7 separate regions of the Homo sapiens genome follow, and all the other regions are linked to region 1. Evidence: promoter capture Hi-C in 16 types of primary human blood cells and fetal thymus (Javierre and others, 2016). All regions are on one chromosome and are shown on one strand. The core of a region is centred on a gene start or on the middle of the fragment in contact, and the rest is flanking DNA. Distances in the headings are between cores, read along the strand shown.

What was found. The method cuts DNA at HindIII sites, captures the fragments that hold promoters and counts their contacts. A CHiCAGO score of 5 or more calls a contact.
Region 2: a contact is called between a fragment that was not itself captured here and the fragment with the promoter of DUSP23 in region 1, in 1 of 17 cell types (total CD8 T cells). The highest score is 5.4, in total CD8 T cells.
Region 3: a contact is called between a fragment that was not itself captured here and the fragment with the promoter of DUSP23 in region 1, in 5 of 17 cell types (megakaryocytes, endothelial precursors, M2 macrophages and 2 more). The highest score is 6.7, in megakaryocytes.
Region 4: a fragment that was not itself captured here is called in contact with the fragment with the promoter of DUSP23 in region 1 in 5 of 17 cell types (M2 macrophages, endothelial precursors, M0 macrophages and 2 more); the score reaches 11.5 in M2 macrophages.
Region 5: a fragment that was not itself captured here is called in contact with the fragment with the promoter of DUSP23 in region 1 in 8 of 17 cell types (M2 macrophages, endothelial precursors, megakaryocytes and 5 more); the score reaches 36.2 in M2 macrophages.
Region 6: a fragment that was not itself captured here is called in contact with the fragment with the promoter of DUSP23 in region 1 in 5 of 17 cell types (endothelial precursors, M2 macrophages, erythroblasts and 2 more); the score reaches 14.0 in endothelial precursors.
Region 7: a contact is called between a fragment that was not itself captured here and the fragment with the promoter of DUSP23 in region 1, in 6 of 17 cell types (M2 macrophages, megakaryocytes, endothelial precursors and 3 more). The highest score is 14.2, in M2 macrophages.

What each region holds. Positions count from the first base shown.
Region 1 is chr1:159,779,189-159,783,567 of GRCh38, reverse strand. DUSP23 (dual specificity phosphatase 23) reads right to left here and starts at 2,606. Exons shown (of 2, transcript NM_001319658.2): 1 at 2,201-2,606; 2 at 1,025-1,415. The coding sequence starts at 2,467. The coding sequence ends at 1,230. It overlaps LOC101928264 (a long non-coding RNA gene), which reads left to right and starts at 4,187. Exons shown (of 3, transcript XR_922193.3): 1 at 4,187-4,342. RefSeq lists an enhancer at 1,714-2,290 and a silencer at 2,282-2,671. The HindIII fragment of the contact is 4,062 bases long and covers 1-3,832 here.
Region 2 is chr1:159,073,593-159,077,971 of GRCh38, reverse strand. AIM2 (absent in melanoma 2) reads left to right here and starts at 1,206. Exons shown (of 6, transcript NM_004833.3): 1 at 1,206-1,339. RefSeq lists an enhancer at 465-764. The HindIII fragment of the contact is 734 bases long and covers 2,087-2,820 here.
Region 3 is chr1:159,089,559-159,093,937 of GRCh38, reverse strand. It overlaps a transcript of AIM2 not described here. Among named protein-coding and RNA genes, the nearest start is that of AIM2, 15 kb to the right of the region's middle. The HindIII fragment of the contact is 1,199 bases long and covers 1,459-2,657 here.
Region 4 is chr1:159,125,748-159,130,126 of GRCh38, reverse strand. It overlaps a transcript of AIM2 not described here. Among named protein-coding and RNA genes, the nearest start is that of TRR-TCT4-1, 14 kb to the left of the region's middle. The HindIII fragment of the contact is 2,642 bases long and covers 903-3,544 here.
Region 5 is chr1:159,211,383-159,215,761 of GRCh38, reverse strand. No RefSeq gene overlaps it. Among named protein-coding and RNA genes, the nearest start is that of ACKR1, 8.7 kb to the right of the region's middle. The HindIII fragment of the contact is 6,582 bases long and covers 1-4,379 here.
Region 6 is chr1:159,237,827-159,242,205 of GRCh38, reverse strand. No RefSeq gene overlaps it. Among named protein-coding and RNA genes, the nearest start is that of ACKR1, 35 kb to the right of the region's middle. The HindIII fragment of the contact is 6,426 bases long and covers 1-4,379 here.
Region 7 is chr1:159,265,495-159,269,873 of GRCh38, reverse strand. No RefSeq gene overlaps it. Among named protein-coding and RNA genes, the nearest start is that of FCER1A, 35 kb to the left of the region's middle. The HindIII fragment of the contact is 3,267 bases long and covers 538-3,804 here.

The sequences.
Region 1 (4,379 bases), core at 1,357-3,856:
GACTCCCCACTCTTCTATGTCTCCACTGGAACTGGAATGCATGTCTACAATAGCATCCATTGTCTGTGGTGGACTCTATCTGTGCCCATCTTCTCCAGCAGGCTGAGCTCCTGAGAGCAGGAATTATGTCTCATTCCACTGTGCGGCCTCCAGATCTAACAGAACTCATACAGGTACGTACAGGAACTCACATATTTTATGGTGAATTTCTATCTTATTCAGCCTGCTATTGCAGAAAAGACCACAGGCAGACCTACAGTAAAGAGTCCATTGGGCGGATATATGCCATTCTTCCCATTTCTCATAAGTCAAAAGTGTAGTGGTGCTGGCAAAACAGGGCCCAACAAGGGGGCAGAATGGGGTCCAATAGGGGATAACTGGAGATAACATCTGAGAAACATGGCCAAGATTTAGAGCCCTGGAACTCTTCATTTAATTGTTAAATATCTGCTCTGCATAACTGCCTAGATTGGCTCTGTTCTCAGGTCCTTTGGCCTGAGGTTGTGGGGCAGCAGAATGAGCCAGAGAGCCCAGATGAGCTGAGCAGCACCTGAGGTTGGTAAGAGGTGACCAGCCCTGTGGAGGTGGAGATGGTGGTTATCTGTGAGTGTGACATCCAGGCTGTCTCTACCCCCAGATAAACAAGGGTGACACGTGTGCAGCAGGTGGGCCTACACGGAGGGGCCTCCTGGCCTGTGAGCATCAGAGACCTGGGAATGCCAGGAGGCCAGGCTATTCTGGACCTGAATCCTTTTCATTGACTAGCTCCCCCAGAAAACACATCAAATATTGTCAGGGAACAGATACATAGCATTTCAGCATCTTCAAGGGATTGAAGACGTGTGTTGCTGTTCTGGCCCATCCTTCCACTTTCTAGAAGTGTTGAAGATGGGCCTCTCTGAGCTTTGCCCACCTCATCCAAAGAACAGAGATGGCCCATCTGTCTTTCCTGTATCACAGGGCTACAGTGAGGCTGAAGTAAGTTAATGTGTGGGAATGCTTTATAAAGTACCATGCAACGTGCCCTGGTTCGTAAAACTCATTTATTCAACAAAGCAGTACAAGCCTCCCCTTCAATCAGGACCTGCCTGCAGGGGTGGGCTACTTCAGTGTCTTCAGCCAATGGGAGCTAGAGGGTTTAATACTTTAGTCCACTTCCCTTCATCTCTGGCCCCATCGACAACATGGGGAAGGGGAGTGAGGGCCTGGTAGAAGGGTACTAAGGCCCCTTATTTCGTTCGCTGGTAGAACTGGAAGACTGCTTTCTCCTGCTCATAGGTCTCGATGGAGCCGGGTCGTAGTCGTCGGATTTCAGCAATGGCATCTCCTGCAGCCAAGCCCCGCTCCTTCACCAGGTAACAGGCCAGCATGGTGCCAGTGCGGCCAAAGCCCAGAGCACAGTGCACTCCCACAGCCTACGAAGAGGGGGCTCGATGGGTGCCACTCAACTCCCCCACCCACAACTGTTTCCTGCCCCTCACTTGGTTCTCCCCACAGCTCCTTCTTCTGTGCCAGGTCCAGGGCTCTGCAGCAAAGTCAGGGAGGGCTGTCCCTGCACTAGGTGGCTAGGAGGCCTCTGCACTGGCTGGTTCAAGAGCTGTCCACCTCTACACAGCCCTCCACCTGTGGTGTTCAATACAGAAGACAGTAGCCACGGCTACTGTGGCTACTGTACTCGAAATGTGGCTAGTCCAAACTGAGATGTAGTGTGAAAAACGCAACAGGGTATGAAGAGGTAGTAGAAAAAAGAATGAAAATATCTCATTAAGATCACCAAAGTTAATTTTATCTGCTTCCCTGCTTTTTAAGAATGCCGTTGCTAGAAAAATTAACATTACATGGAGCCACTTAGGTTCCATTATATTTGGACAGCTTTACTCTAGAAAATGGTAAACAGCCTCCACCTGACTTCAACCCCCACCTCTCCCAGGTGTCTGTCCACACCCTTCTCCTTCACAACTCACAGTATTAGCTGGTTTTCACTGCCTCTCCTCAAGCCCAGTTCGCACTGCTTCGCCCTCTCTTTAGTTCCTTCCGTTTAGCGCTTCCCTCCCCCGCACTGGCTTCCCAGTCTCCCGGCCCTACTGTCTGCCTCCCCGAGCCCAGTTAAGTTATCCCAGGCCCGGTCTCCCCAGCTCCGCCCGTGTCCCCCGCTGACCTTCCAGGCCCCTCCCTCCCTGCGCTGACCCCGCCCGCTGACCTCTCCCCGTGCGTTGGCCTCGTCCACGATCTGCACGAAGCGGTCGATCTGGTCGGGGGCCGGCGGGCAGAAGTCGGGGATGCGCAGGCGGTGCAGGGTGAGGCCGGGGCAGCTGTCGCTGTGAGGGGGCCCGCGCTCCGTCAGGGACACCAGGTGCCGCACGCCCAGGTCCAACAGGAACTGGTAGTGGGCGGGGAGCCGCGGCAGCGCCAGTCCCGCCAGCCGGCCCGGAAGCACCCAGGAGAAGTTGGGGGGCTGCACGCCCATCGCTGGGAAAGGGCACAGGACAGCGGGTCATGGGGGCCGAGGCTGGCCAGCCCCGCTCCGCCCACGCGTCCCCTCGCCCGCTCCGAGCCAAGTAACTCACCACCTACCTGGCCTCGGCGCCTCCCGGGCCACGTGGTCTGCAGGGCGCCGCCCTCGGGTCGCTCTGCCCAGCCGCGGGGATTGGCCCAGAACCTGGGGCGGGGCTGGAACGCGGAACCCAGTCTCTGAGCGACCGAGGGAAGCGCCGCGATCCCGCCCCGTCCGAGCAGATCACGCGGTGATTGGCTGGATCATCATAATGGGCGGGGGGTTACTTCCACGGGGTTCAACCCACTCAGCTAAGAAGGAAGACCTGGAGCGAGTTAGGAATTGTTTGCTGCGGATGGAACAACCCGGGGTCGGGCTCTGCTGCACCCTGGCGGCATGTTGCAGTCATTGCGTCACTGGCGCCTGCCCCTGCCTCCTCGCGGGCCGGCCTAGTTCTACCTCCTTCACGCTGGATGCCCTGGGGTTTAAGAGATGACAAATCGGCTTTCTCCCAGGACGAGGAGTCTCCTCTCTAATGATTGACTGGTCGTTATCAGCGACTTTTTGAACTGTTCCAGTAAGAGGGAATTACTGCTGCAAGGAGGCTATTCTCATTTTTTCATTGCTGGAACTATTAAAAACTTACCCAGGGTAATAATTATAGTAATAATAATAACCAGCACCAACTTCTCCTGTCAATCCAGTTGCTCCTCAGGACTTATTGAGCATTTATTATGTGCTAGATAGTCTTCTAAGCACTTAGCACATACTGACTCATTTAATTGCCACAGTAATCTTATAAGATAGGTGATCTAGTGAATCCCATTTTATGGATGAAAAAACAGAGGCACTGGAGAGGTTAATAAACTTGACCAAAGGATGATGACTAATGCCTCCAAAATCTTTAATAATATCGCCATTTCCTAAAGTTAAATGGAACATTGTTTTCTCTTCACATAACCCCCTCATGTCCCCAAATATTATCTGGGTTAAACGCTTGTGGGTTTTCTTAATTTTTATTAGTATTTCATATTTCTTCATTTTTCAAGGTTTCCTAGTTCTCTGGGTCACTGTCCCCTGGGCAGGCTAGAGTTGATTAGTGTTGTTCTTACTAGGTGGGGGCCCCTAGATCTGAACACCGTTTCCACTGTCATCTGACCAGTCCATATCCTCATTTGAATAATGTGCTTCTAGCGATGCAGACTAACTGTAATTATGAAAATAGTTAACCCTTATTGAATTTGTTTATGTACCAGGCCCTGTGCCAAGCGCTTTCTGGAAGAACCACATGTGAAAGGTATTTTTGTATCTTTTTTTGTACATGAATCATTGGAAGCTTAAAGAAGTTGGTTAACTTGGCCAAGGACACAGTGATCCAAGCCCAGGGCACTTGGCCATGAGGATGTATTATATTTCCTTCCCTTTGCACCCACCTATGACACACGTCTGACCATTTAAGCCTTTGGCTTCAGCAAGATGGAAAGCAATTTGTCTTCTCCTAAAGATCAAAGCCTGCTCTGACCCTGTGGGAAATACACTTACCATTTACCCAGACAATTACTTTCCCCAGGTTCCAGGAGGTGCCAAATCTCCCCTTTTTCTCCTTCCAGACAATCACAGCCCTCATTAAGCCCTTCCTGTTTGCACTCTCATTTCCTACATAAATTCCTATCAAGGTTACCAGCCCTCCCCAGTTTATTCCTTTCTCTCTTTCCCAGCCATGGCCTCTCAGCCACCAGTCACCTCTTCCCCCAACCCCCTGACCTCCCACTTCTCTTCTCAATTCAACTGCTCTTCAGGATTTCTGGTTGCACTACCTCTGGAGACAAGACTCTAGCATTTGTTCTTGTAAGTTAATCTTTTCTTAGTCCCTTTGCCTTGTTCT
Region 2 (4,379 bases), core at 1,204-3,703, 710 kb after region 1:
AACACTTATCATCATGTCCTATTGTGATTATTAAATCACATGTCTGTTTTCATGACTTGGCAGAGCCGCTCAACATCTGGAACTTTGTCTTACTAACTTTTATATTCTCAGAATCTAATACATCATATTAGATGTTCAGTGCATAATTGTTAATTCAATGAATAAGAAAGGAAAACCTCAAGTAAATTGCTGACTAGAATCAAGCCCTCAAGCTCTGAATTTAGGGTTAGGAGCCTGGGTTAGGAAGAAAGACTGTATATATGCTTTTGAGGCAAGCAGTCAGTGAGGGAATGAGGCATGATTACTTGCAGGTGGCTACAAGCAATAAAAATGCGGTCAAAAAGGTTAGCAGAGGGATTGCCCCACTAGTAGATAGGAACTGTTACAACAGCCTGTGACAATGAAGACAGATTGCAAACTTCCTACTTAGGCACAGATGAGAATGTAACACAGAAGAAACTGGCCGCAACTGGTTAAAGCCAAGATGGTCGAAAACTTGGCTGACTGCTGACCCTTAGCTTCATTATGCCCTTAATATCATAAAACTTCCATGGGGAAATTCCCACTCCCATCATGCACCTGACGCCATGACAGTTCCGGATTAACCATCTTTAGTCAAGAAAAGGGTGGCACCCCGATTCCGGGAATTGCCCGCCCATTTCCCAGAAAACCCCTCCCCTTGATTACAGAGTACTCCATACCTTCATTGTGCTTATTCATATAGTACGTGAACCACATTGCCTGTGACTCAAATCTTTGAGTGCCTGCACTCCTCCCTTGAGGGTGTCGTTGGTTTTGCTCCACAATAAAATGTCTATACTTTCGCTTGGGTCTCATTTTCAGATTCTCTTATGCTTTGAAGACAAGAACCTGCACTGCCCTACTGGCAACACTTTTAGATACCCTCTGAGATCAGTGTGCTTGTTTATACCAGAAAAATGTCATCACCAGGCCCCTTAGTCACAAAGTGTATCAAGAAGTCATCTGCGGTCATTTTTTACAGTTTCTAGGCCACTTTCTGTTTCCAATCAGTGTAGTTCCTATGTGGCATGACTCAGATACAAGTTTCTATAGACATTTTCTTCTGTGGCTGCTAGTGAGAACCCAAACCAGCTCAGCCAATTAGAGCTCCAGTTGTCACTCCTACCCACACTGGGCCTGGGGGTGAAGGGAAGTGTTTATTAGGGGTACATGTGAAGCCGTCCAGAAGTGTCAGAGTCTTTGTAGCTTTGAAAGTCACCTAGGTTATTTGGGCATGCTCTCCTGAGTCCTCTGCTAGTTAAGCTCTCTGAAAAGAAGGTGGCAGACCCGGTTTGCTGATCGCCCCAGGGATCAGGAGGTAAGCACCATAGAGGAGCTGGGTTAGAGACGAGAGACTTAACCGTTTCTCTGCTGAAAAAGACAACTGAGGAAAGGCCAGCCATGCTGTGCACACCTCTGAGAACCTGAACCTGCAAACATGGACATCAGCTCTGAAAGGATGGGTTCATTTCTCTTTTATTCACTTTAGCCATGTCCTCTGGTGTCTCTGAGCTGGTGTTCCTTAAGCTTCGGCTTCCTTTGGGGTTTGTCTATCAGCCTATTTGTAAGGCTGACTTTTATGCCAATAGCAAATACAAGCATTTTTTAAGTTAACAGATATTATGAAGTAAAATGCAAGTTTTTCATTTATAAGGCAACATAACTTCAGAGAAAAAACTGAGTCAATCACATAAAATGTGATTAAAATGTGATTGTTATTATATAAGAGGGTTATAGGAAGATTAGCTTCTTATGGACAAGTAGAAAAGTAGGAATCATCCAAGCTGATTGTCACAGTAGATATTCAACAAAGGTAGTGTCCTTCCTTGCTTTCATCAGTAGGATGGGGGCATTTGGATGGCTTTATCATTGCAAATATTTTTAATGTATTCCTTATTTTGAAAATGGTCCTGATAATAGTTTTAATTTTCACTCATGAACTCTACATGTATAAGTAGAGTTTCTCCAGCGCTTACCAACATATAGGAAAAAACATTATAAGGCCATTAACAGTGATAGTTTAGAATTTATTAACATTGACTCTACTGATGGGGGTATTCAAGCTTCCCTAAAATTCACAATCAGTTATTTTCAGCTCATAAACATCTTTTCCTGTTCTTTGGCTTATTTCTTCCACTTTATATGTTGCTGCTCTGGAAGTCATTAATTGCTAATAATGTCAAACATCTTTTTTATGTTTATTGGATATTTGAGCAAATTGCTCATTCACATCTTTTGCACACTTTTCAAATAGACTGTTGTTTTCTTATTGATACATGGTTCTCCATGTATTCCAAAAGCAAAACCTCTATTAGCTCTCTCTCTCTCTCTCTCTCTCTATATATATATATATAGCAGGTATAGCCATATATATATGTGTGTGTGTGTGTGTGTGTGTGTGTGTGTGTGTGTGTGTATTGCAGGTATCTGCCCAGTTTTTGCCTTGTATAATCACTTTGTTTAGTGTGTGTGTGTGCACGGATGTGTGTGTTTCCTACAAAGAAATTGAGAATATGCATGCAATCACATTTGACAAATTTTTTTTTTCTGGCTTGTCCTTTTTGTGCCTTATTTAAGGAACCTCCTTCTACTTCAATGTATTGAGAAATTCTGTGTTTTATTCAACATCATTACTATTCTATTTAGATAATTAATCCAACCAGATATATATTTTGTGTATGATATAAGAGAAAGGCTGAATATATCATTCCCTGTGTATTGTCATTTGTCTGAACACTTTTTATAGTTGGCCATTCTTTCCTTGTGATTTTTAATGCCACTTTGATTATATACCAAGCTTTAATTTACATGTGGTCCTGTTTCCACACTCTATTTATTAGTTCATTTTTTTCTACGCCACTGCCATACTGATTTAATAATTATACATTTGTAGTAAGTATTGATACCTAGTAGTAGGGATAGTACATCCTGATAAACATATTCAACTTGTTTTGCAGGTTTTTGTCTTTATTTTTTTCATTTAGGTTTTAGGATCATTCTGATAAATTCTATGAAAAACCCTTTGAGATTTTGGATAGGAGTTTATAGATTAATTTGACAACACTGCTGTCTTCATTTTATCAAATCTTCCCATTTAAAATATCAGACATACACCCACTTAAGTAGGTCCTTTAAATCTCCCAATAAAGTTTTATAAGTTTCCCTTTAAAACTCTTAAATATATTGTATTCGATGTTCTTATGTACTTTGTAGTTTTGTTGCTATTGGAAATTACTTTTTTTATGTAATTTTTTTCTCTCTTGGAGTGGTACTAAAATAAAGGAATGCATTTCTGTATATTAATCTTATAGTTATAAACTGTTGAATTATTATTTATAATGTTTTGTGTATTATTTTGGATACTATACATAAACAACTATATTACTACAACGTGATTTTGGCAACAAGTTACAAAAATAGGTTGATGGACAGAATAAAGAATCCAGAAATAGACTCACTCATATTTGGACAACTGATTTTTGCAAAGGTAAAAAAAAAAATCATTAAAAATGACAGTCTTTTTAACATATGATTCTGGGAAAATTCATATTCATATGAAAAATAAATGAACTTTGAATCATCACTTATATCATATACAAATTAACTCAAAGCAGTACATACAGCCAAATGTGAAATGATCAAACCGTAAAATTCTTACAGGAAGACATAAAATCTTCTAATCTTGAGATTGGAAAAGATTTCTTAAATAAGACACTGAAAGCATGATCCATGAAAGAACAGATTGATTAATTGCACTTCATCAGGTATATGTATATGCCAAAATTTATCAGATTGTATACTTCCAGTGTATGCACCGTGTTGTATGCCAGTTATGCCTCGATAAATCTATTTTAAAAATAACAGGAAAATGTATCCTGTTTCCTTTTTGTTGTTGTTGTTGTTGTTGTTTTGAGATGAAGTTTCGCTCCTGTTGCCCAGGCTGGAGTGCAATGGCGCGATCTTGGCTCACTGCAACCTCCACCTCCCAGGTTCAAATAATTCTCCTGCCTCAGCCTCCTGAGTAGTTGGGATTACAGGCGCCCACCACCATGCTCGGCTAATTTTTGTACTTTTAGTAGAGATGGGGTTTTGCCATATTGGCCAGTCTGGTCTCAAACTCCTGACCGCAGGTGATCCGCCCACCTTGGCCTTCCAAAGTGCTGGGATTATTACAGGCGTGAGCTACCGCGCCCAGCTAATGTATCTTGTTTTCTGAGAATTCCAGAGGTGTTGTATACTTTCTGAAGATGTCTTTCCCAGGAGTAGTGATCACCTTGCTTAAGAAGTTCTTACCTATGTCCTACTCAAATCTCTTTTACTACTGCAAATATTTTATTTTTCTTTAAAAAATATTAATA
Region 3 (4,379 bases), core at 809-3,308, 690 kb after region 1:
AAACCCCATCTCTACTAAAATACAAAAAAAAAAAAATATCCAGGCATGGTGGTAGGCGCCTGTGATCCCAGCTACTCGGGAGGCTGAGGCAGGGGAATCACTTGAACCTGGGAGGTGGAGGTTGCAGTGAGCCGAGATTGTGCCACTGCACTCCAGCCTGGTGACAGAACAAGACTCCGTCTCTCTCTCTCTCTCTCTCTCTCTGTATATATATATACACATACATATATATGTATATATATATTTTCTAAATAAATAAAATGTTATATACATTCCTCTGTAACTTGCTGATCTTCATTATGTCATAACTGCAGTTCATTTTCACAGCTGTAATGTATTCCAGCACATGAGTATCCATGAATATGCCACAATTTATTTGTCCCTTTGACAGGTTTCCCCGTTTTTTGGCTTTAACAGTGCTGCTAAAAGTCTTGCTGGGACTGGGAGTGCTGTGTCATAAGATGTATGTGTCTTCAAAATTAATAGATAATACAGCATTATGTTCCAAACAAGTTGTATCTCCCTATGCTACCAGCAGTGAATAAGATTTGTTAATCTGTAAGAAATATTAAATCCAATTTTTCTCCCAGAATTCAGTGTGTTCTGGCTACGTCACTGCACTGACCCTCAGGAAATTTAGATGCCTTTTAATATTGTATAGCTGAGAAGGGGAATTGAAGTATCATGCTAGATCTTGTAGAATTATATATATGCTGTCATTAGTACTTCTTTTCCATTAGTGTCATGAAGTTGCGTGTGTTTGTGTATTTGTATGGGTTAATGTGCTTTCAGTATTTTATTTATGCGAAATCAGAATGGTATGGGGTTAAGATTTCAGCCTCTGGAAGTAAAAGTTCTGGGATCAAATTATTTATTTATTTATTTATTTATTTATTTTTATTTATTTATTTTGAGACGGAGCGTCACTCTGTCACCGAGGCTGGAGTGTAGTGGCGCGATCTTGGCTCACTGCAACCTCCGCCTCCTGGGTTCAAGCAATTTTCCTGCCTCAGCCTCCCAAGTAGCTGGGATTACAGGTGCCCACCACCATACTCAGCTAATTTTTTTGTATTTTTAATGGAGATGGGGTTTCACCATGTTGACAAGGGTGGTTTCGAACTCCTGACCTCAATTGATCCGCCCACCTAGGCCTCCCAAAGTTCTAGGATTACAGGCGTGAGCCAGTGTGTCCAGCCCCTGGGATCAAATTTTGACTCCTCTACTTACACCTTTGTAACCTCAGGCAAGTAACCTATCCTCTTTCCTCTGCATCTTGGTTTCTCTGTCTGAACGTAGGTACAATTGTTCCTATTCCCAGAGTTGTGGCTGGGCCTAGAGAATACTTAGGACATGAGGATTCACCTCCTTCTCCACTTCCTGACATGATGTTGCCTATGCTTCCCCACCTCTCCCACCTTACCCTTCACCGTGTTCTTCCTTGTCCTCAGAAAATAAGCTTTAACCTCCTTCAGTCTGATAATGTGGGCCTGGGTCCAGAAGAGGGGCCAGTCTCTAATCTGTGTAATTGCGGAGTATGTTTTTGGAGTTTAACTTATTCATAGTTAGGGCTAAAATTGTTATCTGCTATTACAAACTCCTGCTGCATATATATATTTATAACATTTAGGCCATCTTCTACATATTATGTAGTAACTTAATTGTTTTCAGCTTATGCAACATGGTGAATCATTTCCTGAGTCACTTTGGTGGTTAGTCTCTTAGTTTTGCATGTTCAGATAATATTTTCATGTTTTACTGCTAAAATTGTGAATAGTCATTTATTTAAATGAGTTTATATATTTGTTTCCTACAGCAAATATCAGGAATTAGAATTGTTAGGTTATAATTGCCCTCTTTTTTCAATAATTTTTAATTCATGATAAGATGACTCACCTAAGGATTTCACTTAATTGTTTTTTTCCTTAATTTGAACATTAGAAATAGGACTATGTTTAGGGTGTGTGTGCCCTTGGGCAATCACCCTCTGTTTCCTGTGGCCCTGCTACATTGCTAACTTCAGTGGATACCATTTACTTTCTGTTTTGTGTATCCTTGAGGCCCCTTTCATGCTAGAATATTTTTATAGGTGACAGCAGTTTAAGCATCCACATTCTAAGCAGGCCCTTTTCAATAGAGAGGGACGAAGCCACCATTTTTGCTTTGGCAATTGCTGGTGTGTCAGTGAACACACACACACTCATAACATTTGTTACCACATCCTTTATACATCACCCCCTAAGTTACTCTCCAAATACCTTCCCCCAAGGGCATCCAGAGGGCAGGACTTCAGCTGGCTGCCTTGATTCATCCCATCCTACAGATTGCTGTCAACACAAGAGATGATCAGGATAATGTAACGATTGCACTTTGTAAGTATATAATTTTGTTCATTGTCACCAGTTACATGCTGGCCATCCTCAAGCATATAAGATAGTCTTGTAACTTGTGAATCTTCAGAAATCAGAGGAGTTTCTCCTCCTCTTCACTGCTGACAGTAGTCAAAAGGGACCCAGCCTAGAATAAGTAAAGGGAAAGGCAGAACCTGCCAAAGCACGTCGTGACAAGCATGTCATTGTGGACTGACTCTACCCAGCATTTTTTCAGTGGTTGTAATGCCACACATGGCTTTAAGGTATTAATAGGATTGGACACAAGCTTTTCTGTCTTCTACACTTATAAGACCAAGAATGGCTAAATATAAAAAATGTAACCTTTATCCTATCATTCTCTTTTCTAGCTGTATTATTTGTTACTTTATTAAGTAATGTTTAAAGTTATTTGTATTAATTATTTTTACCATTCTCAGGACCATACAAGCCAATTTCTACAAGACTAGCATTAGGATTGAGGTTTCTCATTTAATGGTGATTCATCTTTCCCACATACAGCCTGCCCCTTCATTCTGATGTTTCCATTTCAGCAAGAGACTGAAAGGGAAAGGAGGTCAATAGGAAGTTACTCAGGAAGAAGAATACCAGGAGGGAGTGATGGTGCTGAACACAAGGGAGCCATTTGAGGTGGAATCTTTGAAACTCAGACACTTTATGCTAATGTGGTAGAGGTTGCTTAGGGAAAGTCTTTAGCATCAATGTAAAAGACAATTTTAACTCAAAGAACGATCAAAAATTATTTCCCTGATGGTTTGCTAGAGTCAAAACATGCCTTACACATGTTTGATGCTGACTCTGACAGAGGGATCTGTGTCTCCAGTTACCATGTCAGGAGACTAGACAAACAGCTCATGGTAAAAAATAAAAGACAAATGAATAACCTCCCAAACACAACCTTGTAGGAAAAATAGTAAGAGTTTTCACCTTAAGGTAAAGTTTTGGACTTGGTCTGAAGTGTCCATAGAAGGCATTTAAATAAACATTTTTATTTAGAGATAGAAACAAAAACAAAAATTGAAAGGCATGGAATTTTAGTGGCGTGATGACAATTACAATGACAAAATTATGAAATGTGAAGCAGTCACACGCTTTCTAGCAGTATGCGAGAGAGACTGATTCATGGACTTTAAATTCATGTATTATTTTTACATTCTGGTATATTTTTGCACTTTATAGTCACATCTTTTTCTGGTGTATGTATCTTTACACTGCATTCCTGCACTTTATTTAAAGTGACAGTATTTGTGAATATGACTGAAGTTAAGAGTTGAATGTTGTCTTATGTTGGGTCCCCAAGAAACAGACTGTTAGATTTGCCTGCAAGAAGTTTATTAGAGGGTGCTCTTGGGAACACCTATAAAGGAGAGAGGGAAACTGGGTTGGGCGGAGGGAGAAGTTAAATTGCAGTGAGGGCTGCAGCCAATCCCCCTGGGAACCCTAGAGCTGGGATGGCCTCTAGTTATGCCTAAGTGAGGCAAGAAGGCTGTGACCTTGAACCTCCTCATAGACCCTAAATCCTTGGCTTCAGGCTTTCTCCATGGAAGGATGCAACCTTGGGGAAGGCAGTTCCCTTCAGCATAGGGCAGTCCTGGAACACAGACTCAGGTGTCAGCTGTAACACTTCTAGCAGCTGGGAAAATAGGCACTTTGGTTGTCTGGTTGAAGGGTCTAGGGTCCAGTTACTGAAAACAAATAGTTACTGAACTAAAAACCGATAGAATAGGTAGGGCAGAGATGAAAGAGCAGTGATTTATGGAAAGCTTAGAAGAATAACTTCGTCGTAGGAAACCATGTGTATATTCTTATGATTGTGTGATTCTGGGACTCAGGGTACATGTTTTGAGTGGCCATTTTTGTTTTGACTGGTACATAATTTAAAGAACTAAGCAGAGTGATCCTGTGTTTGTTTGTTTGGTTTTGCATTCAGCTATCCTGAGAGTAAAGGAGTGAAACTAGGAAAGAAACTTCTTAAGGGAGAACCAGATAGTG
Region 4 (4,379 bases), core at 974-3,473, 650 kb after region 1:
AGAATCAATGAACAGATGCTTTTAAAAAAGGGTGCACGAGCCATAGTGTCAAATGTTGCTGATAAGGGCCGACGTTTCCTTTAGGATTTGGTAATACATGGGTTGTCAAGGGAAGCTTCAGTGGAGTGACAGAAGTGGACATTAGTGAGTTCCCAAGTGAGTGAGAAGTGAGGAAGGAGAAGCAAGGAGTGTATACAATTAAAACATTTGTTGTGAAATGGAGTTAGTGGATGGGATGGGAGCTGGAGGGAGAAGTGTGTGGTTTAGGGAGTGGTTTGTTTGACAGGGAATGGTAGTGAATGTTTAAATGCTCATGGAAGTTATCTCATAAAGACAAACATTGAAGGAACAAGAGAGAGGAGTAATCAATAGATAGTTTAGTATTTGAGGAGGCAGTCAGAGATAATGATAATAGTAGTAATGAAAGTTGTTCCCCTCTTATTCAGTAACTGTTCTGAGGGCATGATTCCATTTAATTCCTACACAGCCTCTCCTACAGAGGTACTTTTTATTGTTATCCTGTTTTTTTGAGATAAGGAAACTGAGGCATAGAATGGTACTCTGAGTAACCAACATCACATAGTAAGTGGTGGAGACAGCATTGATACCCAGTCAATCTAGCTTGAGACTTGCACCATTAACCACAGTGTCCTATTGTTGGGTTCACAACCTGGCTGTAGACTCAACCCTTAGTACTGTAACTGAAGAGAAGGTGGATAGAGCAGGTACAAATGCAGTTGTCAGCTTAGTTAGCATCATGAATTTTCTAGAGATGCCATAACAAATTTCCCCAAACTGGGTGCCTCAGAAATTACAGAGATTTATTCTGTCAAAGTTTTGGAACCCAGAAGTCCAAAATCAAGGTCAAGATGTAAGCAGATTTTCACTCCTCTGAACAAGCTTCTTAGCTTGGGTCTGCATACTTCCAAACTCTGCCTCTGTCTTTACCTGGCCATCTTTTCTGTGTCTCAGATCTCTCTCTGCATTTCTCTGTAAGGATGCCTGCCATTGGATTCCAGGCCCGCCCTAAATCTACAATGATCTCATCTCAAGATCCTTACATTAATTACATCTGCAAGATGCTTTTTACAAATGAGGTCACATTCATAGGTTTTAAATGTTAAAACCTGGGCATGTCTTTTTGGGGTCCACTGTTCAATCCACTGCAGTTAGGAGATTGGATGAGTTTCTGACAAGTGGACTTGATAATTTCTGTGAGGTAACAATGTGGGTTATTTGCTGAGAATGTGTCCCAATGTAGAGGGATCAAACATATAAGGGGAGTGAAGAAATCTTGAAGTATCATTATTAAAATATGAAGAGTGAGCTGACTAGGAAATGTAGTTTGTGGAGCAGTGTGGAGAACCAGATGAAGTTTATTGTCATGAATTTATAGTTGTGTGATTTTCCCTAGCAATGATTAGCAGCCCGGGTGCAAACACTGAGGAAGCTGAGAGTTAAAGTATCTAGATCCTGGAAAGAGGGGGTGTGGGAGGGAAGGAAGGACAAAGGCAGAGGGGGTTAGGATACTGGCAAGTGGCTTTCCATGGAAGGCCATAGAGGTGAAGAAGTCGGATAGAGGACTACTGGCTTGGTCAAAAGCAGTCAAAAGAGTGGGAGTAACTGAGTGAACTCGCTATAACGATACTAGGCCATTCTCCAAGTACAGAATATTTATTACTTTAAACACACAAAAAAATCTGGATTAGTGGTTGCAGTAAAGGCAAATAGAAGTTTAATGGAGATAGAAAACTCAAAGGAAAGAGAGGACGGGATTCTGGACAGGCCACTCGTGTAACCCCAGAGTCATGCAGAAAAATGGCAGGGCTTGGGGTGGTGTGTGTGTGTGTGTGTGTGTGTGTGTGTAAGCCTTGGCACATAAGATGACAATTTATAACAAAGCAATTATTTTATTGTGGGTTTATGATACATTTTTTATTATCACACTCCTATCACCATATCTGGCAACTATTTTATACTAAGCACTGTGCTGAGAGATGGGGAGGTTGCAATAAACAAGACATACAAAGTCCTGACTCTCCAGAGGCATGTGTTCTACTAGGAGAGACTGACAAAAAGAAAAGAAACAGAAACAAGTAAACAAAGTTGTTGCAGTTTGTAATGAGTTTGTTATGAAGGGAACAGATTAAGAGATTGCAGCAGAGACTGATGGGCAGACTAACTTTGGTTAAGATGAAAAAGAAGGCACTTTCAGTTGGTGACATGAGAAGTAGGGAGATGAATACTCCAGGGAAAGGGCTGCTACAACAAAGTGCCACAGACCTGGTGGTTTATAAACAACAGAAATTTATTTCTCACAGTTCTGGAGGCTATGAGAAATCCAGCCTTGGGAAGTCCAAGGTCAAGGCAGATACAGTGTGTGGTGAGGGCCCACTTGCTGACCCATAGATGGCTATGTCCTCATGTGGTGGAAACAAGGAACAAACTTCCTTGTCCCTCTTTCATAAGAGCACTTATGAAATCCCATTAGGGATCCCATTAAGGATCCCAACAGGGAATAGTTTTGCTGCGTCATAGATTACATTTCTGATCAGCTTCACCAAGGTATTCTTTCTTGCTTCCCAAAGTGATACTATCCATTTTAGATTGTGTTTTCATTACTGATAATACCAGAGACTTTGCCTCCCAATGGCCCCATGCCATCACATTGGGATTGGGATTTCAACATAGGAATTTTGTGGGGACACAGACATTCAGACCATAACACTAGTCAGGGCCGACACTGATCTGTTACTTGACTCAAGATAGTGTGGCGTGAGAGCAGAGGCGACCCTAAGGGCCCCGTGCACATTTGGGTTACATTAATTTTTTATTGTGAAATAAATTATACATACCCTAGGGTATATGGAATGTATATGAACCATTTAGAAAGTATAATCACAATAATAAAATAAACACTCAGGATCCTACCAGTCAGCTTAAAATGAGAACATCACTAGTTCTTTGAAGACTCTCGGGTGAACCTCATCAATTGCATTCTTTCTCAGTCCCTAGGGGTAGGTAACCAATCATCCCCTGGCTTGTTTATAGTTTTATTTCACATATAGCTATCCCCAAATAATATATTACTTTGTTTTGCTTTTTAAACTTTATGTAAGTGGAAACATATTCTTATATGAGTTGTTTTTGGCCCCTTTACCATTGTGTTTTGAGGTTTGTCCATGTTCTTGAATATACAACAGTTTATGTTCATTAATGGATAATGCTCCATGGTGTGAGTATAACACAATGTATTAATGCATTCTGCCTTTGATGGACATGCAGTTTTTTTCCAGGTTTTTTGTCTATTATAAACAATGCTGTTGGAATAATCTTATATCTCCTAGAGCAAGCAATTTCAGATTATACACTTGGGAATTGGATTGCTGAGTCATAGTTTATATTCCTGTTCGGTTTCACCAGGGTATGCTTTCTTGCTTTCCAAAGTAATTCTATCAATTTTTTTTTTTTTTTTTTTGAGACGTAGTCTCGCTCTGTCACCCAGGCTGGAGTGCAGTGGTGCCATTTCGGCTCACTGCAAGCTTCGCCTCCCAGGTTCACGCCATTCTCCTGCCTCAGCCTCTCGAGTAGCTGGGACTACAGGCACCCGCCACCATACCCAGCTAATTTTTTTTGTATTTTTAGTAGAGACAGGGTTTCACCGTGTTAGCCAGGATGGTCTCGATCTCCTGACCTCGTGATCCGCCCCCCTCAGCCTCCCAAAGTGCTGGGATTACAGGCGTGAACCACCGTGCCCGGCCTATTCTATCAATTTTAGATTACATTTTCATAACTGATAATACCAGAGACTTTGCAAACTGGAGGAAGAGATATTACCTGGTAACTACCTATAGCAGTGGCCACAGTGCAGGAAATGGGTGGAGACTCCCAGGCCAGTGGCAGTTTAGTCTTGCATTTTCCTTCGTCCTTCCCTGACTTCCATTCTCAGACAGGAAATAGCTCTCATCACATGAATGTGTTCAGAAGGCTTTTGAGAAGCTGAGAATGTCAGAAAACAAGAGATTCAAGTTAGAGGCAGAAATGAAGGAACATTCCTTTGCACACAGCTTTCGAGGGTCTAGAATGGCCATCAAGCAATAGATTGGAGTGGACTGACTTGCAAATGTTTTGCTCAGAATTCCTGGCCCTAGAATGGAAGTGTTTTTTGTAGCCATGAATTCTTATAGTCACAGTAGGAGTGACTGTGAGAACTGCATGTTTTCTAATCTCTTGTCCACAAAGGTCATGGAAATCTGGATGTAACTCTACCTGAAATTCTGATGCCTTGACACACAGGCCGACCTTACCCCTGCATTTCCTGGAGTAAGCACTTTTTACTTAAACACCTTCCTCTCTCCTCTTTTTCTCTAAAGGGTCAG
Region 5 (4,379 bases), core at 561-3,060, 570 kb after region 1:
TGCTGGAGGTAGTGGTAGGGTGGGAGAGAGGAGACCCTAAAGTCAGGTTCTCATTTTTTTGAATATCCAACAAAATGTGGGGTGCTTCTTAAACTGCAGTGTGCAAACGAATCACTTAGGATGTTGTGAAAGTGCGGCTTCTGATTCAGCAGCAGATCTGGGATGGAACTTGAAAGTCTGCATTTCCTACAAGCTCCCCAGTGATGCCAATATTGATCCATAGCCCACAACTTGAATGGCATTAGTAGATGACGTGATGTTAATGTATTTCCAATGAGTTGGGGGAGCTCCGTGGCTGATAAGCAGATGAGTTCTCCCAACCGCTCCACCTTCCCACAACAAGGAGCTTCCAAAGGACACCAAGGAACATAACCCACAGGAGAGGGTTGTGAGAAAAGTTGCAATGTGGTCATTTGAGGGTCCCTGTATAAGGTTAAGTATGATCAAAGATTTTGTGGCAATTCAAGAGCATTTTAAGCCCTTCTCTAAACAATACTATAATGCAGAAAAGCCAGCCCAAATGCCATTAAAATACCCACCAACAGCTCCCATTACCATCACTACTATCACCTGCTCCCTTCCCTTGCCCCCTGTTGACCCCTGTTGTAAGGGAATTCTTCCTTAGAGGTCCCTGTGAAACACTGTTTTAGGCAGATTCCGTGAGTCCTTTGGTCACAGGGCTGAGAACACACCCAAAGACAGAGCTGGAAGGCTAACTCCTAGCAGTCCAGCTCCCATGTGCTCCTGCCTTTGTAAGAACTTGTGTTTAGGGTGAAGTGACCCCAAAAGGCAATGGACATTTTTCGAATTGCCTGCAGGGCAAACTCTTCTTTAATACTAATTGCAGTGTATTTCCTCCCAGCTGTAACTGATTTCAGAGCTTCCACATCTGTCAGTCATCCCATTTAATCTTTACATCAGACCTGTGAGCCAGGCAAGGAAGGTGTCATTACCTGCTTTTTCTCTTAGAAACTTAGAAAGCTGCGAAGTGCTACGGCTCAGAATGCACAACTCATGTCTCCCTACTCAACCCAGTGCTCTATCTGACCACCCAACTCTGATATGTTTTGCATTTTGCCAGGGAATGAAAATGAAACTTGGAATACCTAACTGATGGCCTGGTATCCTGGGGAGCTGTCTACTCTGGTTTCTAAAAGTTGTATCTCTCTCAACTCCCTTCTTTCTCTAAATTTAAATTAGCCAAGACAAGGTAAAAAGGGTCAGGAAAAATTTGGAAAGAAATTCGTGAGTTATGTCACCTCTATTTTTAGTGTTAATTATAAAGAAGAACCTTCTGAAATATACATGTATTTAGGTTTCTTTGCCTGCTTTTTGCGGGACTCCTGCATCCCTCTAATTCTCTGGCCAAACCTGGGCCAGAGAAGCGAATTGAAGTGACAGCTTCTGACCACTAGAGGGACCCCAGGCACCAGCTACAATTTCTCTGCAGCAGCTAGTGCCTGGAATGGTACCCACCTCTTGGAAAAATTCAGGTCAGGTGCATATCTGGCTAGGAATCCCTTCGTTGTTTGGTCTCCTGAAGAGAAAAGGTATCCTAGCTCTGAATCAGAGGAATTTAGTTCCATAACGCAAGCAAAGAGATTAAAGTCATCACAAGTGAAACCCAGACACCAGAATCAAAGATTATGCATTTTAGTCTAGTTCTTTCACTTAACATATTATCACAGAGTTTCAGAGTCTTCTAGTTCCAAAAATTATGATTAATGGTATCTTGGATTAGATCAAGGACTATTGAAAATCTTCCTCTAGGTGATTCCAATGTATTGCCAATTTGAAAGAAAGCAGCTGGACTGGTCCCAGCTTTAACCCAATTCAGGGAATGCTTTCTGTGACATTTTGATAATTTATTACCGTCAAGCCACAGCTTGGATCCTTTCTGTAGCTATGAACTCATAACTCAAATTGCTTTTACCTTCTTATTTTCTTTCTCTTATTTGCACCAGAGATGAAAATTTTTTTATTTGCATTTCTCTTAAATGCTGTTATCTCATAACAGCATTTGTAATTTATTTGTGTGTTTATGTGTCTAATTACTGCCTTTCACTTTAGTCTCCAAACACCACAAAGGCAAGGCCCACATCTGATATGCTCACCACTGTAAAACAAGAACACAGAGCAGTGCATAACACACGGTCTGCTCATACACATTTCCTTCCTCCCTCCACTTCTTCCCTCCCTCCCTCCAGAATGTGACAGCCATCTCTGTGGCTCAGATTGAATTGTCAAAAGCTCTTCCTAACATTCAGCCAAAACCAGCCTCCCTGTTACTTCTTCTCATTCAGTGTTTCTAATTCTGAAGCTACATACATGCCTAATGCTTTTTGAACAGCACAACTGTTGAGTTAAAGACAACTATATATTTTCTACACATTTCCAGTGTAAATCTCCCCCACCCCTGACCCCCTTGCACCTTTAGTCTCTCCATGTAGAAGTAACATGGTCTCTAGATTGTCAACATTTTGGCCACTAGCTCCCTCTGCCTTGTCTTCACTTTTTTTTTTTTTTTTCCCAGACAAGGTCTCACTCTGTCGCCCAGGCTGGAGTGCAGTGACACGATCACGGCTCACTGCAGCCTCGACCTCCCAGAATCCAGGGATCCTCCCACCTCAGCCCCCTGTGTAGTTGGGACTGCGGGCACACACCGCCATGCCCAGCTAATTTTTGTATTATTTGTGTGTGTGTGTGTGTGTGTGTGTGTGTGTGTGTGTGTGTGTGTGTTTTCAGATGGGGTTTAATCCTGTTGACCAGACTGCTCTGGAACTCCTGGGCTTAAGCAATCTGCCCACCTCAGCCTTCCAGAATGTTACGATTATAAGCGTGGCAGCTGCACCCAGCCTGGCCACCCCCTTTTTAAGAACTCTCATTTGTTAGTGGCCTTTAAACATGCAGTACCCAGAGCCAAGCCCTCTATTCTAACTATGGCCTGTCCAGGGCAGGGGTGGTGCTGTGCACTCCCTCGTCCTGTACACTTTGTCTCTTAATGCAGTTGAGTCTGCATTAGTGTTTTGGCTACCACATGCACTATTGAATCATCTTTAGCTTGTAGCCAAGTGAAACCTCTAAGTCTTTAAAAATTTTTTTTTACAAGAACTTCTGTTGAGCCAGGTATCTTCCATCCTGTTTTTGTGCAATTGATTTTTAAACGCAGGTTTTGCATAATCCCTATAATACTTTATTTAATTTCTGCATATGTTTGCTATCCCAGTGACCTTCCCTTCACTTGCTCTTGTCACATTCCCCAAAGCATTCCATGGAAGTCCCCCGTCAATCAACCCAGTATGTGAAGGGAACAACCCTGTTCTGGGGCTTGAGGGAGATGATGGGAGGAGGAGAAGCATGGTCGTGTTTTTGGAAGCATCCAGGCAGATCGCACAGACAGTCCACTTCTTCCTCCCCTCTTCATCAGGTCACAGACAGGAAAGGGCCAACTAATTTGTAAAGAACTTTCTTCTCCAAGGCTCCACACCCATTCCCTCTACTCTGGGCAATTGTCTTTCAGTGCGTTGGCTTCCAGAATCCACCGCAACCACCCTGGAGGAGTGTGAAAGGGCAAGAGCTTCTTGCTCTTGTATCTTCTGTGTGTCTGCATGTAAGGAACACTTCTGAACATGACACTGAGACAGGAACACTCACTGACTAGAGGCTGTGCGATTTGCTACGGACCTTTGACTGTGAAATAGAAGTTTGCTCTGAGAAGTCTAGGTGACTGAGGGATTTGTGGATCTTCTATGTGTTCTGGGATCCAAATTTGTTCAAGGTTGTTTGGGAGAGGACTGGGAAATTTTGAGAAACGAGGAAGGAAGGAAGGAAGGAAGGGGATGGGGGACCAGGTGGGCCCAGAGAGATTCTGATGCCAATAATTGTGTATGATTCATTTCCAAGTATTCCAGTACTTTCACTAGCATCTTGAATGTAGTGGATACTCAACAAATTCTTTAAATGAAATTAATTATACACCCCTAAGTGCCTTAAAGGGCGATCCTGTTCCCAAAACTGCAGAGACATCAATTGCCACAGGGGGGCGACAGAGGCCAGAAGGTGAGAGTAGGAACCAGCGTTCACAGGTGGGGAAGGGGTAGGGTTGGAAGGGGAGCTAAGTTGAAACTAAAAGGAAGGAGAGAAGACCGAAGAAAAAAAAAATCAGCATGGTGACTTTTCGGTCCAAGGGGGGTAGTGGGCTCTCCCTGAGAATGATGCAATCTGAGGAGGTGGCTGGACTATGAATTTGATTCCGAGCCAGTGAAGGACTTTGTCTCCCAGAACTCTGGGGGAGTCTCAGTGACTCACTTTTCCTCAAGCAAAGATGAAAAATGACAACCTTTCCCAGTTTTCCCCTGCTGGCCAAAAACCCGGCAGTA
Region 6 (4,379 bases), core at 482-2,981, 540 kb after region 1:
ATAACCATATTAAAATGGGCACTGAACCTGAAATAGACATTTTCAAAAGAACTCATAGAAACGGCCAACAGATACATGAAGAACTGCTCAATATTTCCAATTATTGGAGAAATTCATATTAAAACGACAATAAGATATCACCTCAATCCTCTCAGAATGGCTATTTTTAAAATGACAAAGGATGATAAATGTTGATGAGGATGTGGAGAAAAGGGAACCCTAGCATGCTGTTGATGGGAAAGTTAACTAATACAGCCATTATGGAAAACAGTATGAAAGTTCCTCAAAAAACTAAAAATAGAGTTAACATATGATCCAGTAGTCCCACTTCTGGTTATACATCCAAAGGATTTGAAATCAGTATGTTGTGGAGATATCTGCACTCCCATGTTTATTGCAGCATTATTCACAATAGCCAAGTTATGACTATTGTGTCAGTTAAGTGCCCATCAACTGATGAATGAGTAAAAAAGATACACACACACACACACACACACACAGTGGAATATTATTTTGCCTTTAAAAAGAGGGAAATTATCATTCACGGCAACATAGATGAACCTGGAGGACATTATGCCACGTGAAATAAGCCAGGCACAGACAGATAAATACTACATGTTCTACTTACATGTGAAATCTAAAAGGTCAAACACATAGCATCAAAGAGCAGAATGGTGGTCACCAGAGGCTGGGAAATGAGGGAAAAGGGGAGACGTTGGTCGAAGGGGACAATGTTGCAGTTACACAGGAGGAATAAATAAGTATTTGAGGTGATGAATATGTTAATTAGCTTGATTCAATCATTCCACATTACATACATATATCATCGCATCACTTTGTACCACATAAATATATACAAGTATAATTTATCAATATCCAATATAAATGAATTTTTTAAAAAGTTGTAATGAGTGCTCCCTGTATGCTCAGCCTTCAGCAGGGCTTTGGAAATAAAGGAAGCAAAATTTCTTGCACAGAGAATTCATAGCCAAGGAAGACAAGTTAAGAAATAATTATGGGAACACATAGAAGAAGTATTTAATCCAGCCTAGGGGGTCAAGAAAATCTTCTTGTAGGAAGTAACACCCAAAATGAGAAGTAAATGAAAAGGAAGACTTTACCAGCAGGGTGATTGTGGCAAGTCTTTGTTACAGGCAAAAGGGATAATATGCACAAGGGCCTAGAGGGATACCATAGTGTTAGGAAAACCAAAAATAGTTTGGTATAAGTAGAGTGTAGAGTACAGGATGATGGGCAGCAGGAAGGAGCTTGTGGAAATACAGAAATATAATGCCTTCAAGATAAGCAGGGTCCAGCTTATAAAGACAATTTAATTATGCCAATAAGTATGAACTTTACCCTAAGTGCTCCTGGAGGGAAGACACTGGAGGCTTTCAACTATAGAAATGATGTGATCCAATTGGTATTTTAGAAATATCACTCTTTGAACAGTTGGAAGAAGAGGAATAACCCTTGATCCAAAGAGGCTTGTTATTGAGCTATTCCACCAATCCAAGTAAGAGCTATAAAAGAAGAGATGTGAACAGAAAAGAGGGAGAAATACTTAGGAAGTAGAATTGCTCAGGCTTAGGACTGATTATGTTAGGCTGGTGCAAAAGTACTTGCAGTAATTGAAAAAAACCACAATTGCTTTTGCACCAACCTAATATCTGTAGGTGAGAGGTGACTGGACAGCCTTTTGATGCTGCATTTGCATCAGCACCACCCTTACCTGGGCCAATTGGTTGTGCTCAGGGTGAGGGTCATGGGTTCAAAACACAGCAGCAGAGGAGCTCTTCAGTAGAACACATTGGCTGTGCCAATCTGAATAGCCCCTGACTCTGGTTCCAGAGGGTGAGCAGGAAGCAGAAGACTACAGGAATAAATGTCTGCAGACACTTCTCTGCATCGAGAACAAGGGAGGACTTTCATGAGGGCCAGTAAGAGTCTTCTTGAGGATGGAAGGGGTAGCAGGATAGATGCATGGTCCCCAGAAGATTCTTGCCTTTCCTCAAGATGGTGTGGATAAGTGGGAAAGATCTATTGTTCCCCAAAGTGATCTTGTCTGCCATAAGTGTTCCTTTAAGGGGAGCCACTTGGTAAGCTGAGGCAATTAGCTTTCCTGTCACCCATATCCTAATCTCTAGCAGCTCTCTGGGAGGAAATGAGTCACACTGCAATCTCAGACAAGGGCATCCGGCATCCTAACACTCAGGTAAGCACCCCTCCTCCCAGTGGTTATTCCCCCTGGGCTAGCCCATGAAAGTTGTTTTTCAGATCTACAAGAGTACCTCTATTTTACCTTTATTCATTCTTCTGTGAAAGGAAGGTTTCACTCTGAATAAAGCTATGCTATCCATCTAATTATTGTGTGATTCTGAATGAATACAACACCCACTAGCAGCAGCCATGCTGTTATGCTTAGGTCCTGATGGGTCACAAGCCTATATTCTTGTGATTATGAAACCATTTCTGGTGAAACCGAGAAAAAAAAGTGAATACTGCTATTTAAAACAGCAGCTGCCTTCTAAAGGGGACTGGGGGACGGATCTTGTTAAAAATAGTCTTGGGGACTCTGCTGGTCTTTTCTGCTGCAATGTTGACTTCACCTTAATGGATTTTGGTGCAACCACTATGGGCCTGGAACGGAGTTTTGGAGTAGGGACTAGAGAGAGCTCTGCTCTGTATTATAGTATGGGAAGAATTCAGAGCCCATAAGAGTGAGGGCGGATATGGCAGAGAAATGAGTGAGAACGAGATGGGAAGAAAGATAGGAAGGAAAAGGAGCTTGAAACAGGGAAAAGCCTTTGCAATCCATTAGGTGCCACAAAGGAACTACTTTTCAAGGCAGTGTGGCTACAATAACCTAGGGCAGGGACGACCAACATGCAAATCATCTTTTCAAACTTGTAGTAAAGTCTGATGGATGCCACATGTGAGAAATTGGAAGCAGAAAAAATGCAGTCTCCACACCAAGGTGAACACATGAATGGGGACGTATGTTTTGGACTTGAAGCAGTCTAGAAACTCAACTAATGCAGCAGGAGCAAGAGGCAAGTATGAGAATATAAACCTCTGAGCATTCAAAGAAAGTATGGGCAGGCATTGGCCTTCCAGTAAGTTGTGAAATTGGGGTTTCGTAAAGAATGGTTACTCCAGCTAAACACTGAGATGTACTAGCAATGACTGCTCCTAACATGTGTGAGTTACTGGGAAGTACAAATTGAGTATATTTGTATCAATATACAATATAAGTCAAGTGAAAAAAATTGGTAGATAAAATATGTTCTAAAATCTTAGGCAAATATATCTTCATAATATCAAAACTTAAAATATGGATAAAGTTATGGTTTTGATATGACTGAAAGTTGTCAAAACATCAAAGATGTCTGAAATTATCTATTGTTGCATATGTCCTGGTGTTCTGTTTATAAGCTGGCTACATTTGGTTAAGAAATAAAATGGACACATGATTCATAAGATATCTATTTATTCCAAGACACTTATTTCCTTGCCTTCATTTCAGAAAAATCTCTTATTCCTTTAATCAATATTTTCACATAATATTTGCCTCATAGAAAGCAATGCTCAATTAGAATTAGATCATTTTCCTTGAATTATTATGGGGTCTGGATAGTTTTTGTTATTTTCTTTTTTTTTTTTTGAGACAGGGTCTCACTATGTAGATCAGGCTGGAGTGGAGTGCAGTGGCAAGATCTTGGCTCACTGCAGCCTTGACTTCCATGCTCAGGTGATTCTCCCACCTCAGCCACCCAGGTAGCTGGCACCACAGGTGTGCAACACCATACCTGGCTATTTTTTTTTTTTTTTTGGCCGGGGGTGGGGGCGTGGGGTGTATGTGTTTGTTTGTTTGTTTTGAAATGGAGTCTTGCCCTGTTGCCCAAGCTGGAGTGCAATGGCGCGATCTCTGCTCACTGCAACCTCCACCTCCTGGGCGCAAGCGATTCTCCTGCCTCAGCCTCCCGAGTAGCTGGGATTACGGGCGTGCACCACCACGCCCAGCTAATTCTTTGTATCTTTAGTAGAGACGGAGTTTCACCATGTTGGCCAGGCTGGTCGCAAACTCCTGACCTCGTGATCCTCCCGCCTTGGCCTCCCAAAGTGCTGGGATTACAAGCATAAGCCACAGGGCCTGGCCTAATTTTTTGTATTTTGTTAATAGTAGAAATGGGATTTTGCCACGTTGTCCAGGCTGGTTTCCAACTCCTGAGATCAAGAGATCCGCCCACCTCCGCCTCCCAAAGTGCTGGGATTACAGTCCTGAGCCATTGTGCCTGGCCATTTTTGTTATTTTCAATTTGTAGAAAATTTGCTTTCTGAGGCAATAGCAATAGGAACTGACAAGAAAATAATATTTA
Region 7 (4,379 bases), core at 922-3,421, 510 kb after region 1:
CAGGTCATTTATTTTCCTCTCTAAACTGGTTATTCTAGTTAACAGTTCCTGTAATCTTTTATCAAGGTTCTTGGCTTTCTTGCATTGGGTTAGAACATGCTCCTTCAGCTCAGAGGAGTTTGTTATTACCCGCCTTCCGAAGCCTACTTCTGTCAATTCGTCAATCTCATTCTCCATCCAGTTTTGTGCCCTTCCTGGAGAGGATTTGCGATCATTTGGAGGAGTAGAGGCATTCTGGTTTTTGGAATTTTCAGTGTTTTTGCCTTGGTTTTTCCTCATCTTCATGGATTTATCTACCTTTGATCTTTGAGGATGATGATTTTTGGATGGGGTTTTTGTGTGGGGGTCCTTGATGTTAATGTTGATGTTGATGCTGTGGCTTTGTTTGTTAGTTTTTCTTCTAACCATCAGGCCCCTCTTCTGTAGGTCTGTCTGCTGCAGTTTGCTGGAGGTCCACTCCAGACCTCTTTGCCGGGGTATCACCAGTAGACGCTGCAGAACAGCAAAGATTGCTGCCTGCTCCTTCCTCTGAAAGCTTCATTCCAGAGTGGCACTGGCCTGATGCTGGGCTGATTCACTTCTAATGAATAGAATACAGCAGGAATGAAGTATGTGATTTCTAAGATTAGATTATCAAAAGGCTGAGGCTTCTGTGCTGGGCACTTTCTCTCCCTATGTCAAATCACTCATCATTGCAGAAGCTAGCTGCCATGTTGCAGGCTGCTCTATGGGAAGACCCATGTGGCCAGGAACTAAGGGAGACTTATGGCCAATAGTAAGTGATAAAATTAGGCCTTCAATCCAACATCGTATAAAGAGCTGAATCCTGACAGCAACCACGTAAGTGAGCTTGGAAGCAGATTCTTTTCCTGTCGAGCATTCAGATGAGACTACAGCTCTCATTTATTGACTTCAACTTCATGAAAGATCTTCATTCAGAATCATTAGCCCTGCTACTCTATATTTCTTGACCCACAGAAAACCAGAGTTAATAAATATTTGTTGTTTCAAGCTGTTAAATTTTGTGGCAGATTGTTTTGGAATAATAGGTTACTCATATGCCAACCTTCATTCATACCTTTCTGAAACTGTAGCAGCAGCAGCAACAAAACCAACAATAGGTCTTATATTCTAGTTCTCTTGGGACGTGGAGGAAACTTCCCAATTAGCTCATTAGCTCAGTTCCTACCTCACTGTCACACCTCTCGAGAGAGTGGTGAGGAGCAGGATACCCGGAAGATGCCTCTCCATCACACTCTCCATGGGTTTTCAGGAGTACTGAGGGGGATAGCAGCAGTTATCACAGTGGAGAGACACTCACTGTTTGGCTTCTTATACTGTGTTGTTACAGGCAAGGTCTTTGTTCTAGCAACAAAACACAAAGTTATAGATGGTAAATATTAACTGAACCAGGATATGGTTAAAAAACTAATTTGTTTACCTTTTGATCTATTGTTTTCATTACTGGATCTTTCCTTTCTCTTTTAATTATTCTATTTCCTACTCCACTGCCCTTCCCCTTCAAAGAAAGGCCCTATGTTCTCCTGAAGGACATTTTATTACCTTATGTGTGTAAGGAAATCATGGCAGTCTATGTTAGGACTATAAGATAAGCATACTTGTGGACCCACGGGAGGAATCAATTTCCAACATGTGTTTAGGGGCTTGGGTATCATCAGTAGACTAAGGACATTAACTGATTTAGATGGTTGTGGAGTTCAACATAGTTGTGAGATGGAGACATCTTGGCTCATGACAGAATGGAGATCTAGCTCTTGGGCTCTTGAAGATGAAGTTGCCCAGTTCTCAATACAGGGAGTTCCTGGTTGTTGGGAGTTAATGTGGTGCTCTTCACCTAGAATTGGGCCATAAGCTAGGAAATCAAGGACTCAAATAAGGTATCTGTGAAGTTTGGGGATAAAAATATATGCATTAAAATGAAGATTGAAATTTAACTACTTTGCATTATCTCAGAAATGTACACAAATTTCTTTGAGGATTTTGATTTTTGTTTCTAGCATTTAGAGCCTACAAAATTTTATTTAATAATATTCATGCTGAGTTTTCAAGTGCTTAATTTACTAGGGTTTAGTTAAGTGTTAACATCTTGATGTACTATAAAATATTTTTTAGATTAAGATATTTTTGACAATCAATATGGAAAAATTTTAGAAATAGAATACATACATAAACTTAAAATAAGATCGAATATTTATAGATATAGACATATGTACTAAGGTATAAACATGCAAAGGAATACTCTATATACACTCAATATAGTAGTTACCTCTGAGAAAGGAGGAAGTAAGGAAGGGGAAAGGATGGAGGTGAATTTCTGACTACATCTATAAATATTACTACTTATAAAAAAAGAGGTAGGAAACAATTATGACAAATATGGCATGGTGAACACGTAGTATCTAATATATAGTTTTATAACTTTTTGAAAATTTAAAATGTTTATAATTGTTATTTTTAATTTTAATTTTAATCATCACATGGATTTTCTAAGTGATCATTTTTATGTTCCTTATTAACTTTTTTCTTTAAAATATATTTCTTTTTGCCCATGACACAGCCCTCAGGAGGTTCTGAGAACATGTGCCCCTCTTCATTAACTTATATTTCAACATGAATATTCTTTATGATCTGTAGCCTTAACCAATGACCTATTATGGACATATATGAAACAAATGTATGAATAAGAATAAAAACCATGTAAAGTGGTATAACAGTCAAAACCACCTTGCTGTGGTAAACTCTCCAAGTGGCTTAGTCATGAGCTGGCGCTTCTGATCTCCACTAACAGACTTGCTCAACTGATATGCACTTGGATGTCTTTAGGTTCCATATTAAAGGAGCAAGGTCAAGAAACGGAGGCCCTTATCTATCTCTTCCATTTCGAAGCCCACAATGGCCTTATGTAGGGAATTATGTCAGTTTTCTGAGAAGATAGTAGTCCTTCATATTCACTTTTTCCCAAGATCTGGAAACACAGATAGTAAGTATTAGAGAGGCTGTACCCTCATGAAGACATAGAGCCTGTTTCCTTGTCTAACATGTTAGGCTTTCTCAGAGGAAAACAGGAAATGAGAAGTTACAGGAAGTGGTGCAGTCACAACACCTGAAACAAGTGCTCAAGGAGGAAAAAGCATTTCTATTCATTTATATATAAACTTGAATCCTATCAGCTGGAACAAAGACTTTGTCCTTCAAAGAAGAGTATGTGAAGCCAGGTGGTAGGTGTCTCTCCCTTTCTAGGACTTTTGCAGTCCCCAAGAGTCCTCCCAGCTCTCCATGTTTACTTGGGAGGAATGGCACAGTCAAGTAGTTGCTGAGTTCAGTTAGGTATATGCTCCCAACCTAGAAAAACAGTGGTAGAGATAGACTAAAGGGTTCTTTATGGGGAGAGAGAGTTAGCGTGGGAAGAGTGAGGGGTGGTAGAAAATGGGAGAAATGATTTTTCAAATACCAGAAATTCCTAGGTCCAGAGAAAGGAGAGCTGGTTTACCTGCACAAAGGGAACACCATCACCCCTACTTTATGAGAATGAGAAAAGGTCCGAGGCCTATTTGCCAGAAGGAGAGATGATGCCGCAGAGCTAACAGCCTTGGCTAGGCACTTTCTAACTGTGTGAACGTCAAGAAGTTATATACTTCCATGAGCCTCAGTTTCTTCATTTGTAAAATGGGATTTTTTATTAAAAAAAAGAAAGCTACCTCATAAAGTTTTATAAATGTTGAATGAGATTAATTATGACATTAGATATTTAAAAGTTATAAAATATTAGTAGTTTTAAAAGCTTTAATATTTCTGTACTATCTGCTCAGAAATGAGCTACTCTTTTCCCACATGGTATGTTTCCCAAAACAGCTACCATTTCTGGCTTTCCTTCAAATGGGAACTCTGACCAGTGCACAAACTCTTCCAGGGAAACAATTAGTAACATAAAAAATAATTAGAGTGTTCTGAAAATACCACTCATGATGATCTGCTTTCAGGAGATAAGGAAAGAAGAGCTGATTTCATCTTCATGTGGAAAATATTCATCAGAATCTTGCTATAAATGGTCTTAGGAAAACGGGATCTCCATATGCAGAAGAATGAAACTGGGCCCTTATCTTACATCATATACAAAAATCAACACAAAATGGACTAAAGCCCTAAATGTAAGATGAGACACCATAAAACTCCTAAAAGACACATGAAAAAATGCTCATCATCACTGGCCATCAGAGAAATGCAAATCAAAACCACAATGAGATACCATCTCACACCAGTTAGAATGGCAATCATTAAAAAGTCAGGAAACAACAGGTGCTGGAGAGGATGTGGAGAAATAGGAACACTTTTACACTGTTGGTGGGACTGTAAACTAG